Regions from separate parts of the Homo sapiens genome. Here all the other regions are linked to region 4. Evidence: promoter capture Hi-C in 16 types of primary human blood cells and fetal thymus (Javierre and others, 2016). All regions are on one chromosome and are shown on one strand. Each heading gives the region's core, a stretch centred on a gene start or on the middle of the fragment in contact. The rest is flanking DNA. Distances are from core to core; before and after follow the strand shown. Region 1 overlaps SENP1 (SUMO specific peptidase 1). Region 2 holds the start of H1-7 (H1.7 linker histone). Region 3 overlaps LOC105369750 (a long non-coding RNA gene). Region 4 holds the start of CCDC184 (coiled-coil domain containing 184).

Region 1 (2,700 bases), core at 133-2,632, 130 kb after region 4:
CAGTGTTCCCCTGCTGCCTACCCAGTATGTCGTTGCTTACTGTTGGGCAGTAGCTCACTGTTCTGGCATCCTGGTGTGTAAATATTTGTCAAAGAACAGGGGCATTTTCCCATTCCCCAAAAAGCATTCTGAAAAATGTGCCTGTTTTCTTAGTCATATTTCCAAGCCGTGGATCAGTTAGCCCATTCATTCCTTGCAGTTGACAGACACTGGCCTGACCTCAGCTGGCCACATAAAGTAAGTATGCAGTAACTTCCGGCACGATAACTTTCAAGTTTTAGTACCAAAGAGTCCTGGACCTAATGGAACCATACACAACATAGTCACTATTAGAGAAGATGTCGTTTCATTAACAAAGAATCACACATCTCCCCACTCAGCCATTGTAATTTCTTTCCACACTTAATATTGAAGGCATAAATGGAATCAACAAAGATGAGAAAGCTAACCATATAGATTCTGGGGTAGAACGTTATTCTTCATGTTTGTGACTTGACTTTAGGTCTCATATAAGGTAGGTTTTTATACTTCCATGTGTGCCTTTATATAAAGGTGACATTGCTGAGCTACTATCAGTTTACAGGTGTTTTTCCAGTATAATTAATGGCTTCTCCTGTCACTTAGTTCTACTTGAGACCAAAAGAGTTTGCCTCTGCAGGATGGGTTATTAAGTTGAAAAGGCAGTCTTTAACCATGGAGCAGAGTTTTCCATCTTTGTGTAAAACCATGTGGCTGTCATATAAAATTTGAGTTCTTGATTTTAACTTGACTAACACTAGGCGCTAACTGAGCTCAGTATCTACTTAAATTGCTCACACAGTTCCAGTAGATAAAGGTAACTGCTAATGTGCATTATTAAACTGCTTGCATGCCTTCCTCTCCTTTTCTGTAAGCCTCACCTTAACACCCCTGTCTTCCTGCAGTCTTTTGACCTAACCTTCAGTCTTCTACAAGCCTGGCCAGCGTCTGCCCATTTGTACTCCCAACCCCATAATATATATGTCAGCTTTTTCTCTTTTCACCATTTATAGCACTTCAGCCTTCCCCCTTCTAGTCAGAATTTGATTTAGAGAAATGAATCTGTTGGATGTTGAAGACTTAATTCAGTTTATTAGGAAACAATTACATATGCTATTCAACACAGCAACTGCAACTATTTTGAAAGGCTAGGCCTGAGTGTCTATTCTAATAGGTGTAATTTCTTCCCACAGATCATCAATTTCTACATGAATATGCTGATGGAGCGAAGTAAAGAGAAGGGCTTGCCAAGTGTGCATGCATTTAATACCTTTTTCTTCACTAAATTAAAAACGGCTGGTTATCAGGCAGTGAAACGTTGGACAAAGAAAGTAGATGTATTTTCTGTTGACATTCTTTTGGTGCCCATTCACCTGGGAGTACACTGGTGTCTAGCTGTGAGTACCCCTTTCATTTTTGATAAAATGTAAAAGCTATGTACTTATAGAACACACAGAGGGTAGTGAGTAGTAGTTCTACATGTTCCCTTGATTATTGAGAGAAAGAGTGTTTAGTAGTAGGTTGACTAAAATCAGATAGATCTATGAACTTCCTATCAAGATTGGGATGTAGATTTTGAAGAAAGCTGTGGAATTTCCCTTTCTAGAAATATTTAAAAGAGAGTTATAGGGTGTCTAAGCAGCCTTAAAGGAAGGCATGGGGGAAAAAAAGTGACTTATTAATGATGCTGCCACTCAGATTCTGTGACTGTTATTTTCAGCCTAATCATAACTTACCTTGCATACTTGGTAATTTAATATTTTTATGACTCTGTGAGCATTAGCTTAATGTGTTAATAAAACTATTTCACAGTCTGTTTTGGATTACATTTCAAAAGCATAAAGCCAAAAGGAACTTCTCAATATAAAGAAATAAAACCCAGAATCTGCTCACCATCTTTCTGAAACTTTGTGGAAGTGATTTTGAGATACTCACCTTATATTCCCTGAAAATCATGTAGTTTCTTCACTGTTGCCCACTTTGCAGAGGGAGAGAATGAACATTAGAAAAAGGCTTCACAGCAATAATGGGGCCACCTGTTGATGAGTGCCATCATAGTTTTATGTAAATAACCCTTCATTTTTTTTCTCTACAGATTAAGCATAATATAATGCAAAATATCAGTCAAACTTGTCATGATTTTGTAGGAAGTCTGGCAAAAGGTTCCAAAGGGCAGGGAAGGGAAAAACTGATAAACCGATTTTCTTCATCTCATAAACACAGAGACTTTTTTTCTTATTCTCAGGTTGTGGACTTTAGAAAGAAGAATATTACCTATTACGACTCCATGGGTGGGATAAACAATGAAGCCTGCAGAATACTCTTGTAAGTAGGGAGTTGAGGACAGAAGAGTTTGATATCGGGTATAGGTGGTGTTTTTCCAGTAATTGAACTCAGTTGTTTGATACCTTCAATGGAGTGATTGATAAAATCTTCATATTAAGTAAAAATGCATATTTTGTATCTAAGTAAGTTTAGTTTAAAAACAATACCAAAGTATGCCCTAATGGGAGCAATTACTATCCTAATGCACTAAAATGTAGACTAGATATAAAGATATAGATGCTACTTAGAAATCATTTAATCCAACCTCCTAATTTTTCAGATGAAGAGACCAAGGCCCACAGAGGTGCCTTTGATTTGCCCAGGTCCTATTAGTTAGTGGCTCAGGTGGACCAGAAT
Region 2 (2,700 bases), core at 158-2,657, 150 kb before region 4:
AGTTCTGCAGCAGGAACAGAATCTCAGCTAATTTACTGTCTTCACTGAACGTTACCACCACCCACCCCTTCCCTTCCAGGTGCGGCAAAGAGGAAACAGACACAAGGTGGTCTAGAGGTCCATTTCATTTCAATGAGTGTGACAGCCGCTCTTCTTGGGGCCTATGGGGGAAAGGCATTGGTCCGTGGTGGGAGTGAAGCTGCTCCCACAAGATGCATTCCCAACTGGATCAGGAAGACCTTCAGATTTAGGGGAGGTCTTTGTGGAAGTCTTTAGTGGAGTCTTCCCCTGCCCGCTAGATGTCCGGTCGGTTTTAGCCCGCGTTGGCTACTGGATGGTCCGCTGTGCGGGCTTCTTGGGCTCCTGCTTCTCTTCCCTGGGCTTGGAGCTTCGCCTCTTGTCCTTCCCTGACCTCGGCGTGGTGTCTTCCTTCACGGCCTGTCCTCGCCCCTCGTCTGCCGCTGTCGCTCCCGCTTCCTCCTTGGCTCTGGCACACGGCGGCTCCTTGGCTCTCGGCCTTGCCCTCCTGGTCCTCCTCGCCCTGGCATTGGCCTTGGCTTTCGCCCTCGCGTTCCGTCTCCACACTTCTCTGGCCTTCCTGGCCGCCTTGCGAAGGGGCTGGCGGCGCCTCCGGGAGCTCCGGGGCGCGGCTGGGGTCCTCCAGGGAGCGCGCGTGCCCTCCTCTTGCCTCGCGCGTCCCGGCTTTCTCCTGGGCTTGGGAACCTTCCAGACCCTGAAGTAGCCGGCGGCGTCGCTGCCGCTGACCCGGAGGAGCGTGGCCTTGGCCTGCCCCCTGGGCGCTTCGTGGCGGCCGCTCTTCCTGCGCACTTCGTAGCCGGCGTTTCGGAGCTCCTTCTTGAGAGCTGCCAGAGTCAGCCCTTTGTGAGTGGAGATGGCCTGGAGCACCAACTGGGACACTCTGAGCACGGAGCTTGAGCAGCCCCTCGATGGTCCCCCGACAGTTTTTTCCGCTGGCAGCTGAGTGGCTGAGTGTCCTCGGGATTCGCCACTGGGCCCAGGCGCCTCAGCCATGGCCCCACTCCCGCCTCTGCGGGGCCACCGGCTTTGGGCCTCACCAGTCAAGGCCTGTTCCATAGCTGAGGTAGACTGGGCCACGTCACAAAGGCAGGCCTGGCAGAGATTTTCAGGTCCTAATTATGGGGCTGGCATATCTCACCCGGGGAGGGGCCCTTTTCACTTATAATAACCAATCAAATGCCACTTCCTTCTAGGTCTAAACCAATCCAAGTCTTCAGCGCCTGTCCACCCCCAACAGTCACCTACCTATAGAGTCTCCAGGGTTTTGTTCCCAAATCAAACTTACTGATCTCGATCTCCACCGCTTTCTTTAGTCGGCTATTTTGTGTGTGTATGTGGTCCTGCAAACCATCTACCCACAGTTCCTTAAGGTGAGCGAAGCTGCTCCCAACTATCCAAAACAAGCAACACACTGCCTGTAGAAAGTACACGGGGTAGTCCATGAAACACAACCCAGATTAGAAACTCCCACCTTTAATTCCACCAGTCAGGTATCTGAAGTCATGTCTCCCTAATTCTACACAGTGGATTCTGTGCAAGAGCATGAAGTAAAAAAGGAACCAATTGTGTGATCCCTCTACCCTAAACACTGATTCCCACACCTGGGAAATTTAGATGACGCATTCAACTGTACTGAAACAATCTAGATTTCACATCGCCTGAGGATACTGGTCTAATCATTATTCTTTGAACATACTGTGTTTTTTTCCATCTCATCCCCTCTCTTGGATTTCTCATCCTCTTTGTCTGCCCAGATAAGTCCTGCTCATCTTTCAAGGTACTGCTACATTATCCTTCTTCACTGAAGACTCCCCAAACTCTTTCAAATGATTTCTTGCCTCTTAACTACCACAACCACCAAAATTACTTCTGCAATCTTATATGGCTTTTTCTTTATTTTAAATGAATTTGGCATTAGAGGGTATAATGTGACACAATATTTTTTAAAAAGAAAAAAACTCGTACTTGGAGCTGGAAGATATGGATGCATATCCTAGCTCTTTAGGAGCCATATGACATTAACAAATCCCTTAATATCAGTGGTGTGGCTGTCAGATGGATGTGCCGGCCATCTGACTTCTTATCTAACATCACATTCCCTTCCTACCAACATCACAGAATTATTGCAAAATTTCAGAAGAGGTAGATGAACAAGGGCTACCTAAATATAAGGAATAAATTTACTTTACTTTGAATGTTTCTGTCTTGTATTTCCAACTAAATAAAGATATCCTCAAGAGCTATAGTCTTTGAACTTCTATGTCCCATGCTGCACCTAACAATATGCTTCATTATACACAGCGGGCATTTAATTGAGCCTGCTTACATCATTCCTCTCTGGTGAGGAGAGTTTCTCTAGATTCAGAAAGAAACTTCCAGAAGATCAGGAGAAAGGAGCAGAGTGAATTTCAAAGGGTTGGAAATGAAGGGGGCCAAGTAAGGATTAGCTTATCAAGGACCTATTTTGGACACAGTTTAGTTGGGAATAATTTAAAGTATTATTCTAAGAATACTTCAAATTGCCAAGCATATCATACTTTTCCAGAGGGCAATCACATACATTCATCAGTCACAGGCTAGACAGTGACAGTTTCTTTTAAAAATCAAAGCTCCAGGAAGTAGCTTAGACCAGTGCTTTTTTTTTTTTTTTTTGAGACAGAG
Region 3 (2,700 bases), core at 122-2,621, 150 kb after region 4:
AGGCTTAGGTTCAAGCCTCAAAGCCATCATTTGCTAACTGAGGGCCCTTAGAATTACCCTCTCTGATCCTCCATTTTCTCCTAAGATGGGCATAATCTTATCTATTTACTACCTACATAATATTAGCCAGTTACTTCGCATATTGTAGTGAAGGCCAAATGGGGTTGCAGGTGTCTAAGCACATTAAAATAGTCACTGCATCAACATTAATCGTCATTAGAGCAAAGAGTGGAAGGAACGTCCCATAGCGATCACTAGAAGCTTTACAACAGCATCTTGTCCACTTCCCAGCCTCTAGTCTAACTCAAACATATCCAGGGAGTAGACCCCAGCCCGCCTCACTCTAATTCTGGGCTCAAAACTTAGGAAGGTCTTTCTGTTGCTGAAATAAACACTTCTTGGTCTCATGAACAACAATCGTTTAATTCAAGGCAAATTTCTAAAAGGGTTCCCTTTGCTTTACAAACACCACCTGACCAGGCCTGCAAGGGAAGGGGAACCATTTTAAGGGGCCCCCACCATGCAGGGCCGCTTGGTCACTGTGCTATCGATGAGGACATCATCTGCAAGATCACTGTTTTCCCTCTGGCCGTGGTTGGATGAAGCCCAGTGTGCTGTTCTCATTGTTTGGGCGCAGCATCACAGGCTATGAGTTGAAAATTGGCTCTCCTTGGACAGTCCTCAAGCACTACATTTTTTTCAGTGACTCTCACCAGACCCACAGATGAATTTACCTTCTCTGCGTATGCCTTTTGACTGGTTCTGTTTCAGGGAACCGCAAGCTCAATAAGCTCCACTGTTCTACCAAGCTGGACAAACAGCCACGTCTCTGTTCTCTTGGCCAGACCCTGAGGCCTGGAGTCCTGCCTTCAGGAATTCCAGAATTCTAGAAAGTTAGAGCTAGACAAGACCTCAGCCTTCATCTAGTCTTGCTCCAACCACTGTGCGGATGGGGAAACAAGGCATGGGCTGGGGATGACTTAAGGGGTATAAAATGTTGGGCTTTCTTTTGTCAAGCCCAGCATGTGCCTCCTATAGGCACCAGTGGTCTCTGCAAGTCCTGGCCTGCTGGCCTCGCAGCCACAGAGAGCTCGGACTCTCTCAGGCAGCTCACTTCATTGCTGGAACAATAGCAATGTTCTTCCTAATGCTGGGCAAAAATTGGCCTCCCGCCTTCCTTTAATGCTCACCTGCTTGTGCAGTCTCCAAGGAGAGATAGGTCTGGCCTGCATAGAACAATTGGAAATTAATTCATCCTTAAAGGAAGTGGAGCAGACTGTCCCAGGTCATTCTTGGGCAGCCTCTGCCATTAGATTGGAGAGAAGGCCCAGCACTCTGGGTCTACACAGACTCTGAATATAGAGACCTGGATTCATGTTCTGTTGCCTAAGAGCTATTAATACACGATGGTGAGCATGTTACTAACCTGTTTAAGCCTCAGTTTCCTCTACTGTGAAAACAGAGGTAATAGGAGTTTCCTATGTTGGTTCATTCTCCGTATGGCTCACCCATGATCCTAAGATGGCTACCTAGAGAAATATGGCTAAAGGAATGGGTCATTCCCTCTTGTCTTGCTGGCACCATACAACTTGGAGAACCTGTTCAGATATGCTTCCATAGATCTGCTCAACAGCCCCGGGAGGTAGACAGGGAGGTTTACTATTTATGGTTTACAGATAAGAGAACCAGGCTGGGAAATTCTAAGTGGTTTGTACAAGATCACCCAGCTAAAAAGCAGGAGAACTGGGACTTGAATCCAGGCCTCCTGAATTTGGTGACAGTGCAGACTTGCTCCGTGCCATCAGGCCTGGCTCCTGGGAAGGAACACTTTGAGAAGCCTTAGTGGGGCTTGGTCTCATGCCTCACCCAGGGCCTGGCCATAGTGGGTGCTCGGGGGACCTTTGTCTTTTCTGCCACAGCCTGAGCCAGAGTGGAAGCTGGGCTGTGCAGCAGAGCAGGAACCCAGCAGGTGGCAGGGACAGCCTGGCTGTGCCTGCTTTCTCCCTTGGTGGTGGGGACCACATGCTAAGCTACGTCTGTAAACATGGCCACAGCCTCTTTCTGATCCCTTGAGCTCTGTGTCTCTGCATACACGTCTCTTGGTTTTCTTTCTCCTTTGACTTCACTCTCCTCCCCACTCTCCCCATGCCCCTCCTCTGTCCTGGATTTGATCTTCTGTCTCCTGGCCTCCTTGTCTCTCTCAACATCCAGTGTTTTTTTCTCTTGTTGACTTCCTCTTTCCCTCTCTCTCCCTCAGTTCCTCCTTTGGATCTTCCTGGGTCGAGCAGACAAGTGAGAGGCTTCTGCCGTGCTCAGGGCAAGAGGCTGCTGAGCTGCCCTTCCGTCCCCTCCTCCCTCCCCACACATCCCTCTCCCTTGCCCTGGCCCCTCATCACCTTGGCTGGCTCCTCCTTGATGCATGGGCTGAGGCGAAGGTACAGGGAGGCAGTTAGAGCAGCTTCCCTGGATACAAAAGCTTCTTTCTACCCCTTGGAGATGAGGTTTCCAGGCAGGTTATTTTTATAGCAGGGCTCAGGCAGGATTCTTCAGAGAAAATAAACAAAGTCATACACACCAGTCCTTCACACCCTTCAGCCCCTTCCCTGGAGAGGGGCCCAGCCTAGCTGTGCCGACACAGGGACGCCCACCACCCCAGAGGGGCTGTGGGGGCTGCTGCCGGGATATCAAGAGGCCAGGGGT
Region 4 (2,797 bases), core at 122-2,621:
TCCTGTTGTCTGGGAAGGGGGAAAGGACAGGATAGGGATGGATGGGAGTCCAGAGATGGGCGCTTCCTCTCCCGGAGCCTCACCTTTCCGCAGTTCGCTATAATTCGCTTAGTTGGGCAGAAAGAATTCTCGATGCTCCCAAAGTCCTTCACCCTACAAATCCTTCCTCGAGGGAGTCTCTCTCTGCCTGACCCACAAGAGCAGCTGTCCAAGTGAAGCATGCCGCACCGCGCCGTTCAGTCCCCCTCGCGTCATGCACTCGGAAACCCAAAGACAGCCCGGGAAGGTAGTGCCCCACGGAGTCCCCTCACAGGGAGGCCTCGCCCTCCAGTTGCAGCAGGGTAATGTCGGGCATGTCGAGGGGCTCCACAAGTGGCCCGTCCCCCCCAAGGAGACCAGCACAGGGGCTTTCGGGGCGCTCACAGTGACTGGAGGGTGTGGCGGGGCTGGGCATCTCCTTCTCTTCTTCCTCTTCCTCCTCGTCCTCGGGATCGCGACCCAGCAAGCCGCTGTCCCCGATCCCAGGCGAAGGAGTCTCCGGCTCTTGGGGGTCGCTCTGGAAGCTCCCCTTGCCGCCGACCACGCCCAAGCCGCCCTGGCGGGGCGCAGTGGTCATAATCTGGCACATGGAGACGATGGCTCGCTGGTTGGCGCACACGTCGTCCGAGAGCACCTGGATGTGCGAGGCCTGCTCGTCCAGGGCCCCCCTCATGGCCCTCACGTCCTCAAACAGGGCTTGCAGCTGGGCTTTCAGGTGCTCCATCAGTTCCTTCATGCCGCCGTTGTACTCCCCGGAGATCACGTCCCCCACTGCCGGCACGGTGGACACCTCCAGGGGCGCCGGCATGTCGCCGCCGTCCTTGGTCATGATCTCCAGCAGACCGTCCTCCATTGAGTGGCAGAAGCGGGTGGCGGAGGCTCTGGGTCGCGTCCAGCCCGGCCTCCGGGGTGGGGGAGGGGGTGGAGGGGGAGAGGTCCCGGGAGGGGCTAGCGGGAGCCGAGGGAAGCGGAGGCTCCCGAGACTGGCGGGGAGCCGACGTGAGAGACGAGTCCTGGGCAGAGGGCGCAGGCAGGATCGCGGGAGGCCGAGAAGAGGCTGCGGGACGAGGACCCGGCGAGGGTCCCAGAGCCGGCGTCTCTTGGGATCGCCCCGGGACGAAAGTGCCCTGCCCTGCCTCGCCTCCCGGATCGCGCCCGTGTCAGCGCCGCCCTCTGGGCGCCACAAGCAGAGAGCGCCTGCCGGTTCCGTGGGTCACAGACGCGCTCGCGGAGGGGTCCGCGTCCAGGCTGAGGCCAGCGGCGCGTCGGACTCGGGACTCCCCCAGGCCATTACCGGGCAGCGCCCGCGAGTGTGGCAGCAGCAGCTGGGGTGGGTCTCCCGGGGGTGTCGCGGATGCTCCTCTGTTTCCAAGGCGACGCACGGCACGTAAATGACGTGTGTCTCCATGGTAACCAGGAAGTGGCGAAGAAAAAGGGAGGATGGCTGGAAGCTGCAGTGGGGCTCTGGAGTCTGGACTAGCGGGGTGGGGGGAGGAGAGGGGACGCTACAGTGGCTTCGGCCAAGGCTGGAAAGAGCGTGTGGTCGCAATGTTTAATAGGGAAGTATGAGAGAGCCGTCTGCTGCAGAAACCTCCAAGTCCGGGAGAGATCGTCCCTCCCCTAGCCGGGGTATGAGACCCAGCGAGACTGCCCTGGAAAGATTTTTCCAGCCCGCATTCCTTTCTCAGAGGATGGCGCTAAAGTCGAGTCCTGCCTCCCTGTCCTCCAGCGATGCGCAGGAAAGCGGAGAGGGTAGAGAGGCTGTTGCTAATGATCCCAGAGTTGAGCTGGGGCACGGTGGCGCTCTGGAGCCGGACCCACCGGGCCTGACGGTGCAGAGGCAGGAGGAGGGCGCTACGGAGGTTTCTGCAGTAAATCAGCCCTCTAGCTATAGAAATCACCGGAGCGGGGGAAGGATGGGACTCCCTCCTTTATGAGACCCTACCGCTCCTACGCAGGTCTCTGGGAGTTTGTCCCAGATGGGGAGGCCAAGTGCTTAAGTTTTGAGAATGAAAGCTCCATAAGGGGAGAGATTTTTGTCTCCCCTGCACCCTCCATCACGGAATCCCCAGCTCCTAAAATAGTGCCTGGCACCTAGTATGTAGATGCTTAATATAGTTATTGAATGAATAACAAAAACCACCAAGTCCCACGCTCTCATCCAGAACTCCCCAAGCCAAACGTAGTGGGTTTTAGGAGACCTGAATTCAGTTTCGTTTCTGCCACTTATTCATTCAGCGACCTTGGCCACATCATTTTCCTCATCTGTTAGGGAATTGGACTGGATAATCTATAATACTATTTCTAATTCTGAATAACAGTCTGCATCATCTCACAGGTGAAAAGGTAAACTGTTGACCGTTGTGTGGAGGGTATGGATGGGGGGACTGTGTGTTAGAGTAATTCCCGCTCTCTCTTTCAGTGCCCAAGTTCAGACATACACTGAGTATCCCCAACCTTTGTGACAAGCCCTTTCCCTATTTAAGGGGTGGAGCAGGAAGGGTGGAGGAAGAAGAAAAATTGTCTTTAATATACGTAGATGATTGCAGATTGAGAAGGAATCAGCACCTGGGCAGAGCACAATAATTAATAATGACCCTAGGAAATTAGGGAAGCCAAGTGATCGGAAGCCAAAAATGAAGTTCATAAGAATAAATCTGGGAAAGAGAAACAAACTATATCACTTCAAGATAGAGAAGAACTACGTAAAGGTGAGTGTTTTGTAGACTGGCGGTTCAGTGACAGCAAATGTGTTACC

What was found. Contacts are between HindIII fragments. The CHiCAGO score rates a contact against its expected background, and 5 or more counts as called.
Region 1: a contact is called between a fragment that was not itself captured here and the fragment with the promoter of CCDC184 in region 4, in 2 of 17 cell types (megakaryocytes and erythroblasts). The highest score is 7.4, in megakaryocytes.
Region 2: a contact is called between the fragment with the promoter of H1-7 here and the fragment with the promoter of CCDC184 in region 4, in 4 of 17 cell types (M1 macrophages, monocytes, neutrophils and 1 more). The highest score is 6.1, in M1 macrophages.
Region 3: a contact is called between a fragment that was not itself captured here and the fragment with the promoter of CCDC184 in region 4, in 1 of 17 cell types (megakaryocytes). The highest score is 6.7, in megakaryocytes.

What each region holds. Positions count from the first base shown.
Region 1 is chr12:48,047,644-48,050,343 of GRCh38, reverse strand. It overlaps SENP1 (SUMO specific peptidase 1), which reads left to right. Exons shown (of 18, transcript NM_001267594.2): 14 at 1,212-1,415; 15 at 2,264-2,343. Among named protein-coding and RNA genes, the nearest start is that of COL2A1, 45 kb to the right of the region's middle. The HindIII fragment of the contact is 4,419 bases long and covers 1-2,700 here.
Region 2 is chr12:48,327,687-48,330,386 of GRCh38, reverse strand. H1-7 (H1.7 linker histone) reads right to left here and starts at 1,407. Exons shown (of 1, transcript NM_181788.1): 1 at 108-1,407. The coding sequence starts at 1,095. The coding sequence ends at 328. RefSeq lists an enhancer at 150-649. The HindIII fragment of the contact is 4,449 bases long and covers 1-2,700 here.
Region 3 is chr12:48,029,615-48,032,314 of GRCh38, reverse strand. It overlaps LOC105369750 (a long non-coding RNA gene), which reads right to left. Exons shown (of 4, transcript XR_944904.3): 3 at 2,397-2,544; 4 at 867-1,226. Among named protein-coding and RNA genes, the nearest start is that of COL2A1, 26 kb to the right of the region's middle. The HindIII fragment of the contact is 2,215 bases long and covers 264-2,478 here.
Region 4 is chr12:48,182,218-48,185,014 of GRCh38, reverse strand. It overlaps CCDC184 (coiled-coil domain containing 184), which reads right to left and starts at 1,371. Exons shown (of 1, transcript NM_001013635.4): 1 at 1-1,371. The coding sequence starts at 892. The coding sequence ends at 308. The HindIII fragment of the contact is 3,853 bases long and covers 1-2,797 here.